2 separate regions of the Homo sapiens genome follow, and region 2 is linked to region 1. Evidence: promoter capture Hi-C in 16 types of primary human blood cells and fetal thymus (Javierre and others, 2016). All regions are on one chromosome and are shown on one strand. The core of a region is centred on a gene start or on the middle of the fragment in contact, and the rest is flanking DNA. Distances in the headings are between cores, read along the strand shown. Region 1 holds the start of MSH2-OT1 (MSH2 overlapping transcript 1). Region 2 has its middle 37 kb from the start of MSH6.

Evidence for each region. Contacts are between HindIII fragments. The CHiCAGO score rates a contact against its expected background, and 5 or more counts as called.
Region 2: a contact is called between a fragment that was not itself captured here and the fragment with the promoter of MSH2-OT1 in region 1, in 2 of 17 cell types (naive B cells and M0 macrophages). The highest score is 6.8, in naive B cells.

The regions. Positions count from the first base shown.
Region 1 is chr2:47,525,709-47,529,380 of GRCh38, reverse strand. It overlaps MSH2-OT1 (MSH2 overlapping transcript 1), which reads right to left and starts at 1,844. Exons shown (of 3, transcript NR_120602.1): 1 at 1,577-1,844; 2 at 1,013-1,080; 3 at 217-314. All of the region lies in intron 1 of KCNK12 (potassium two pore domain channel subfamily K member 12), which reads left to right. It also overlaps a transcript of MSH2 not described here. The HindIII fragment of the contact is 9,331 bases long and covers 837-3,672 here.
Region 2 is chr2:47,744,360-47,748,031 of GRCh38, reverse strand. No RefSeq gene overlaps it. Among named protein-coding and RNA genes, the nearest start is that of MSH6, 37 kb to the left of the region's middle. The HindIII fragment of the contact is 2,462 bases long and covers 417-2,878 here.

The DNA.
Region 1 (3,672 bases), core at 595-3,094:
GAATATTCCATTTACATCAGATTTATCTGGAGACATTTGTTAAAATGAAATTCCTGGGCCCATTTTCTGACCCACTAAATAAACCTCTGAGCGGGACCTGCCATGGAATCTGCATTTTAATCATGTGTCCCAGTTGCTTGGAACAGCCCTGGTTTATACATGCTGTCCTGGGGTAATTACTAGTAGAGCCACTTTCACTCTCAGAAGTATCCCAGATTGGACTGTACAGTACGTTTTATTTCCCTCTCTCACAGTTGACAGTGCAGAGCCCAGCAGGAAAAGTCTCCAGCGGGTAATGAGTCAAGACTTCCCATCTGTCTGGCAAGTGGAAAGGGCATGGGCTTCAGGGCCAGCTCAGCCACGTACAAACTAACTTCAGTGAATGCTTCCCCTCCCTCAGCCCATTTCCTTGCCTGCATTTTTGGGCGTAATAGTGCCTCCCTCACAGGGTGGCTGGGGGCCTGGATGGGAGGAGTGTGTCAAGGGCCCAACCGAGGCTGCCGCCCAGGGCTGCACGATACAGATCAGTGCTGGCCTCTCCATCTCACTTCCATGCTCTCTGAGCTGAACTCCGAAGGCCCCATCACCAGGGCCCCATTTGCGAAGGCGGCACCAGACAGGCTGTGGGAACGAGCTTCACAGCTTTTGTCAAAGTGGCATAATAAAGCCCCCAAGTGTCTGCTCTTTGCAAACTGGGATGGCAGATCAATTGTGGCATAAACAAAATAGCAGGCTTGGTGCGAACCCAGGGACAGATCACGCCTCTGCAGGGTGTGATTGAGGGGGAGGAGGAGATTCTCAGGGTGGCTGGGTTTGCCTTTTCTCTGGCTGAAGCTTTGAGGCCCCTCTCCAGAGCAGCTTGGCTCCCCACAAATTGCAAGAGCTTGGGAGACTGCTTCTCTACTCTGGGAGGCAACTGGCTAGGCAGTGGCACAAGCATAGGCCCCAGTGCCCTCAGCAGGAAGCCTGTCCCAGGGTCTCAGCACCCCCCCAGAGCTCTGAACCTACTGACCTTGATGCGGAAGAAGGATGGACCATCCTCCACCCCCACCTTGTCTCCCAGGATGAGCTGAGTGTGCTCTGTAGGAAAGCGAAGGGCAGTAAAGCAGGCACAGAGAGACCTCAGGAACAGGACAGTAAGGACGCTTTCACTGGTTGCCCTGTGCGCTGTCGGAGACCCTTCTGCCTCACCTGTCCCTTCATTCTGGGCAGATGGTGTTACACAGCTAGTCTAGTATTTAGCATCATTTGGGGCCTGCAGCACTCCCTAGCTAAGTTGTTATGCTGAATGCAAGCTGAACCAGGGCCGTAAGAAGACCCCAGGACAAGTTCTGGCCCAGACTATATGCGCCCTGTCCCAGAGGTGAGCCTGCTGGCAGCAAAGGGGGTAGGATCTGTACAAAACTGCTAAGAAACCCAGTGAGGGGCCTCTAGGAAGGCAGCCTAGAGACTGAGGACAGGAACTGCATCTGTCTGGTTTTCCACCATATTTCTGAGCCTTGCATGATACTGCCAACCTGATGCTGTCCACAGTAAATGTTTGCTGAAGGAATGAATAGGTGGATGTTGGTCTTACCAGCTTCATGTCTGGTGTTGGTTGCCTTGCTGAGGCCCTCGGATAAAGCCACACCCTTGTGAGGAGGGAGCATGAGGCCGGTCACATTCTAGGTTTGGTCATCCAGGAAAAAGGCAGATCCTCAACTGGAAACCCAAACTCCAATAGATGGCCTTGGGCAGAAGCCAGGAGTCCAGACATGGAAGAGTTTGGAGGAGTCAGAAGAGGCCCCCAGAGAGTGGAGGAGATGGCCTTGGCCTCACAAGAGTAGGTCAGGCAGGGCAGGCCTGTGGGGGGCCTCAAGAGGCCAATGAGTACCCCAGCTGTGGTCAGCCAGGCAGACTGTCACCCAGAAGCAGCAGTCTCCTCTGCACCTCATTCCTCGCGCTGTCCTCAAGCCCTGGGTCAAGTCTTATGTAAATAGCCCAGCTTGTCTGAGCTGTGCCACGGGGAGGTTATGAGTCTACCTTGGCAGACTCTTTAGGGGATAGGCCATGGCCCCTCTCCCCTGTGAAGGGGACAGCAATGATCAGTAGAAAGGAGGCCAGAGAGGACAGAGGACTCTTAAGGATGGGAGTCACAACTCTGAGCAGCAGCCACTCTCCCACGAAGATGCTCCCCTGGCTGTGGTCCTGGAGGACTGCAATTTGGTTTCTTAAGAAAAATGGAGCTTCCTTGGTGCCCTCAGAATACAGTCTAATGTGGTGGAAAGAGCATGAACTTTAGATGCTAGCACACCTGGGTTTCAGTCTCGGCTCCACCATTTCCAAGCTGTGGGGACTTCGCAACTGCTTTTCACCCTTTAACCTGCAGTTTCTGCATCTGTTGAATGGAGCTGTTCTCCCCCATAGGTTGTCATGATGACATGCGATGATGCAGGCAGGGCCAGCATTGTTAGGTGGTGGCTTTCACCACAATGAAGAGAAAATCCAGGTGGAACCAGTTTATTAAATGGGCCGACACTGGAAATGGCTTTGTCTCATCTATTGTCTTTAAGAACTCCCTTTTAGATTCCTTAACATCTTGGGTAAATGCTAGAGTTATCCAAATAGTTTTTATGTCTTTTTGTGTTTTGGGGTTTTTGTTTGTTTTTGAGACGGAGTTTCGCTCTGTCGCCCAGGCTGGAAGGCAGTGGCGCGATCTTGGCTCACTGCAACCTCTGCCTCCCGGATTCAAGCGATTCTCCTGGCTTAGCCTCCCAAGTAGCTGGGATTACAAGTGCACTCCACTATGCCCGGCTAATTTTTGTATTTTTAGTATAAACGGAGTTTCGCCAAGTTGCCCAGGCTGGTCTTGAACTCCTGGCCTCAAGTGATGCACCCACCTTGGCCTCCCAAAGTGCTGGGGATTACAGGCGTGAGCCACCAGGCTCAGCCAGTTTCTTTGTTTCTTTTCTTTCTTTCTCTTTTTTTTTTTTTTTCTGAGGGAGTCTCACTCTGTTGCCCAGGCTGGAGTGCAGTGGCGCAATCTCGGCTCACTGCAAGCTCCGCCTCCTGGGTTCACGGCATTCTCCTGCCTCAGCCTCCCGAGTAGCTGGGACTACAGGCACCCGCCGCCACACCTGGCTAATTTTTTTTTTTTTTTTGTATTTTTAGGAGAGACGGGGTTTTTGCATATTGGTCAGGCTGGTCTTGAACTCCTGACCTCAAGTGACCTGCCCACCTTGGCCTCCCAAAGTGCTGGGATTACAGGCATGAGCCATCACGCCCGGCCTCTTTTGTTGTTGTTGTTGTTGTTAATTAAGTACCAGTTTTAAGATTGAGACTCGTTCTCAGTTGTTTAATCAAATCTTCAAATTCACTTCTAATCAGAGCTTATTTAGCCTCCCCCTCTAGCTCTGGGCTGACACATGGCTCAGGGGACCCGCAGTGGATGGGGCATGGGGGTGATCTTACATCACTGGAGCCACTATCATTCCTTCTTAACTTTTGCTGGTGGGGCTGCAAGGCTCCCTGTTAGAACAGGCATATGTGCTTTCACGGCATCTATTTATGGGTCCTTGGGAGCCCTGCACAGGGACCACTCCCTGCCCCATTCCCTGAGTGGGCACTGCCCTCTCCATCCCTCCTCCTGTGACTCCCTCTCATGCTGTCCCCAGCCCTCTGCCCCTCAGCCTC
Region 2 (3,672 bases), core at 398-2,897, 220 kb before region 1:
TTAGTTACGCAAAATTTATGCAGCTGGCTTTAATTGCTCCCCGAAGGTGGGCTTTTCTTTCCTTTTCTTTTCTTTTCTTTTTTTTTGAGTTGGAGTCTCTCACTGTCACCCAGGCTGGAGTGCAATGGCACGACCTTGGCTCACTGCAATCTTCACCTCCTCGGTTCAAATGATTCTCCTGCCTCAGCCTCTTGAGGAGCTGGGATTATAGGCATGTGCCACCACACCCAGCTAATTTTTGTATTTTTAGTAGAGACGGGGTTTCATCATGTTGGCCAGGCTGGTCTCGAACTCCTGACCTCATGATCTCCCTGCCTTGGCCTCCCAAAGTGCTGGGATTACAGGCGTGAGCCACCACACCTGGCCAGTGGGCTTTTCTTTTCTACCACATGGCCAGGCTCCAAATTTTTCAAGCTTTTATGCTTTGCTTCCCTTTTACTTTTTATTTATTTAGTTTTGAGACAGGGTCTCTGTCACTCAGGCTAGAGTGCAGTGGCACAATCATTGCCTTGCACAGCCTTGACCTCCTGGGCTCAGCCTTCTGAGTGGCAGAGACTATAGGCGTGTGCCACCACACCTGGCTACTTATTTATTTATTTATTTTATAGAGACAGGGTTTGTCCATGTTGCCCAGGCTAGTCTTGAACTCCTGGGCTCAAGTGATCTGTCTGCCTTGGCCTCCCAAAATTCTAGGATTACACGCATGAGCCACTGTGCCCATCCTGCTTCCCTTTTCAATATAAGTTTCAGGTTTACATCATTTCTTTACTCATGCATATGGGAATCAGTGGTTAGAAGCAGCCAGGCTACCTCTTGAACACTTTGCTGCTTATAAATTTTTTTCACCAGATACCCTAAGTCATCATTCTCAAGTTCAAAGTTCCATAGATCCCTAGGGCAGGGGCACAATGCCTCCAAGTTCTTTGCTAAGGCATAACAAAAGTGACCTTTGCTCCAGTTACCAAAAAGTTCCTCATTTCCATCTGAGACCTCCTAAGCCTGGACTTCATTGTCCATATCACTATAAGCATTTTGGTCACAACAATTTAACAAGTCTCTAGGAAGTTCCAAATTTTCCCTCATCTTCCTGTCTTCTTCTGAGCCCTCAAAACTGTTCCAACCCCTGTTTGTTACCCAGTTCCAAAGCTGCTTCTGCATTTTCAGGTGTCTTTATAGCAATGACCTACTCCTCAGTACCAATTAGTCCATTATGGGCTATAAAGAAATACCTGAGACTAGGTAATTTATAAAGAAAAGAGGTTTAATTGGCTCATGGTTCTGCAGGCTGTGCAGGAAGCATAGCAACTTCTGCTTCTTCAGAGGCCTCAGGAAACTTACAATCATGGTGGAAGGTGAAGGGGAAGCAGGCACATCTTGCATGGCTGGAGTAGGAAGGGTGGGGGTTGCTACAAACTTTTAACAACCAGATCTGATGATAACTCACTCACTATCACAGGAATAGTTCCAACGGGATGGTGCTAACCCATTCATGAGAACTCCGCCCCCATGATCAAATCACCTCCCACCAGGCTCCATCTCCAATACTGGGGATTACAATTTAACATGAGATTTGTTGGGGACACTGATCCAAAGTATATTAACATATCAATAACATAGTTATACAAATATTTCTTACTTGACAGTGTTTCCTGTACACTTTTAACATACCAGATAAGCCTAACATGGCTCTCTTGGACTTACAGGTGTTCCTTTTGGAAAAGTCTTCTTTTTTTTTTTTTTTTTTTTTTTTTTTGAGATGGAGTTTTGCTCTGTCACCCAGGCTGGAATGCAGTGGCACAATCTCCGCTCACTGCAACCTCCGTCTCCTGGGTTCACATGATTTTCCTGCGTCAGCCTGCAGAGGAGCTGCAATTACAGGCTACCACACCTGGCTAATTTTTAGTGGAGATGAGGTTTCACCATGTTGGCCAGGTTGGTCCCAAACTCCTGACCTCTAGTGATCTGGCCACTTTGGCCTCCCAAAATGCTGGAATTACAGGCGTGAGCCACCATGCCCAGCCTGTTGTGTAAACTTTAAGCAATATCTTTCCCATTATAAAAGTTTTCTTGTGGCTTGAGTGTAGGACGATGCTCTTAAAAATTGAGATTTCCTTTACAGATATTTATTTTACAAAGTGTTACAAAATAGCCAGCTAAATGCCACAGGTCTTATTTTAAATACCAATCTAGTTAGATAGGTGGTCTTTTCAATTTAGCTTGTTTCTGCTTAATTAGATTACTGACTTTAGGGTGGAACCCTTTAGTGAATAGGGCAAGGGAAGCATTTGTAGTCTTCAGGGTCAAATATTTAAATGTGAAAAGCAGGCACAACTGGAAGGCAGGGCATCGAAATTTTTAAAAATCAAGGGTCCCATTTTTACTGCATCCTGGGTCCCCAAAAGTTGGAAATGCCATGAGACCAGCCATGCGGTGGGTGACCCAATAAACCCATTCTAGCCTATCCCCCATGGGAGTCTTATCCCTCAATGATGAGCAGTCTTACACCTTTGAAGTGTTCAAATGATGCCTTTCTCATCTAAATGCACAAAGAAAAGTGTGCCCTGCCTGCAGTAGCAACCATTCATTGTATCCCCTGTCAGCCATTTCCAAAACTGCAGCCTTCACCAGTGACTTGTCAACCAGTGCACACACAAACGTCAGGTTCCCGCTCACAGCACAAAGCAACTCATGGAACCCACTAAAACCAAAGAGATTAGGCGATACAATGCAAAAAGGAATAGAGCTTTAGACCTGAAAGAAATTGCCCACAACACTTCAGACTCCATAAGGAAAACAGAAACTCCAAAAAGCAGGTGAGTGGTGCTGTGTTCTGTGTTCTTCAAGGGGTCTCAGGGTCATTAGAAGTCTCTTCTAAGCTTCATGTGGTATTGAAAATGACAAAAGGAAGGAGAAGCAGATGTGGAAGAAAATAGAAGAACAAGTCTTAGAGGAGCCAATTTGGGAAGATTTTCCGCTTTCAAAAAGGCCAATGAAGTTTTACATTTTTCTCAGCAAAAATCATGCCAATAAGATAGGAAGCAAACAGTGGGATCAAACACATTTAAAAAGGGGCTTTAGCTGACTGAGAAAAATCCCAGAAACAGAATCCAAAAAAGGAAAAAGAAGAAATATTTTATTCTCAAAAAAATTATAGCCTAAATATCAGCTTTTTTTTTTTTTTTTTTTTTTTTTTTGAGACAAGGTCTTGCTCTGTCACCCAGACTGAAAGCAGTGGCATAATCCAGCTCATTGAAACCTTGAACTCCTGGGCTCAACGATCTCCAGCTCATTGAAACCTTGAACTCCTGGGCTCAACGATCCTCCTAACACAGCCCCCTGGGTAGCTAGGACTACAGGTCTGTGCCACCATGCCTGACTATATATATATATATATATATATATATATATATATATATATATATATATATATATATATATATATTTTTTTTTTTTTTAACATTTTTTGTAGAGACGGGGTTTGCTATGTTGCCTAGGCTGGTCTTGAACTCCTGGCCTCAAGTAATCCTCCTGCCTCATTCTTTCTGATGCAGGATTTTTCTCAGCCTCACTTTGCCAGCTGGAAACTTCTGTGGCTGTCAGGGCCTCTGCTTATTTCTTCCCACCACCCCACTCCAGCCCATGGCTCCCAGCTGGCTTGGCTCTGCAAGCCGC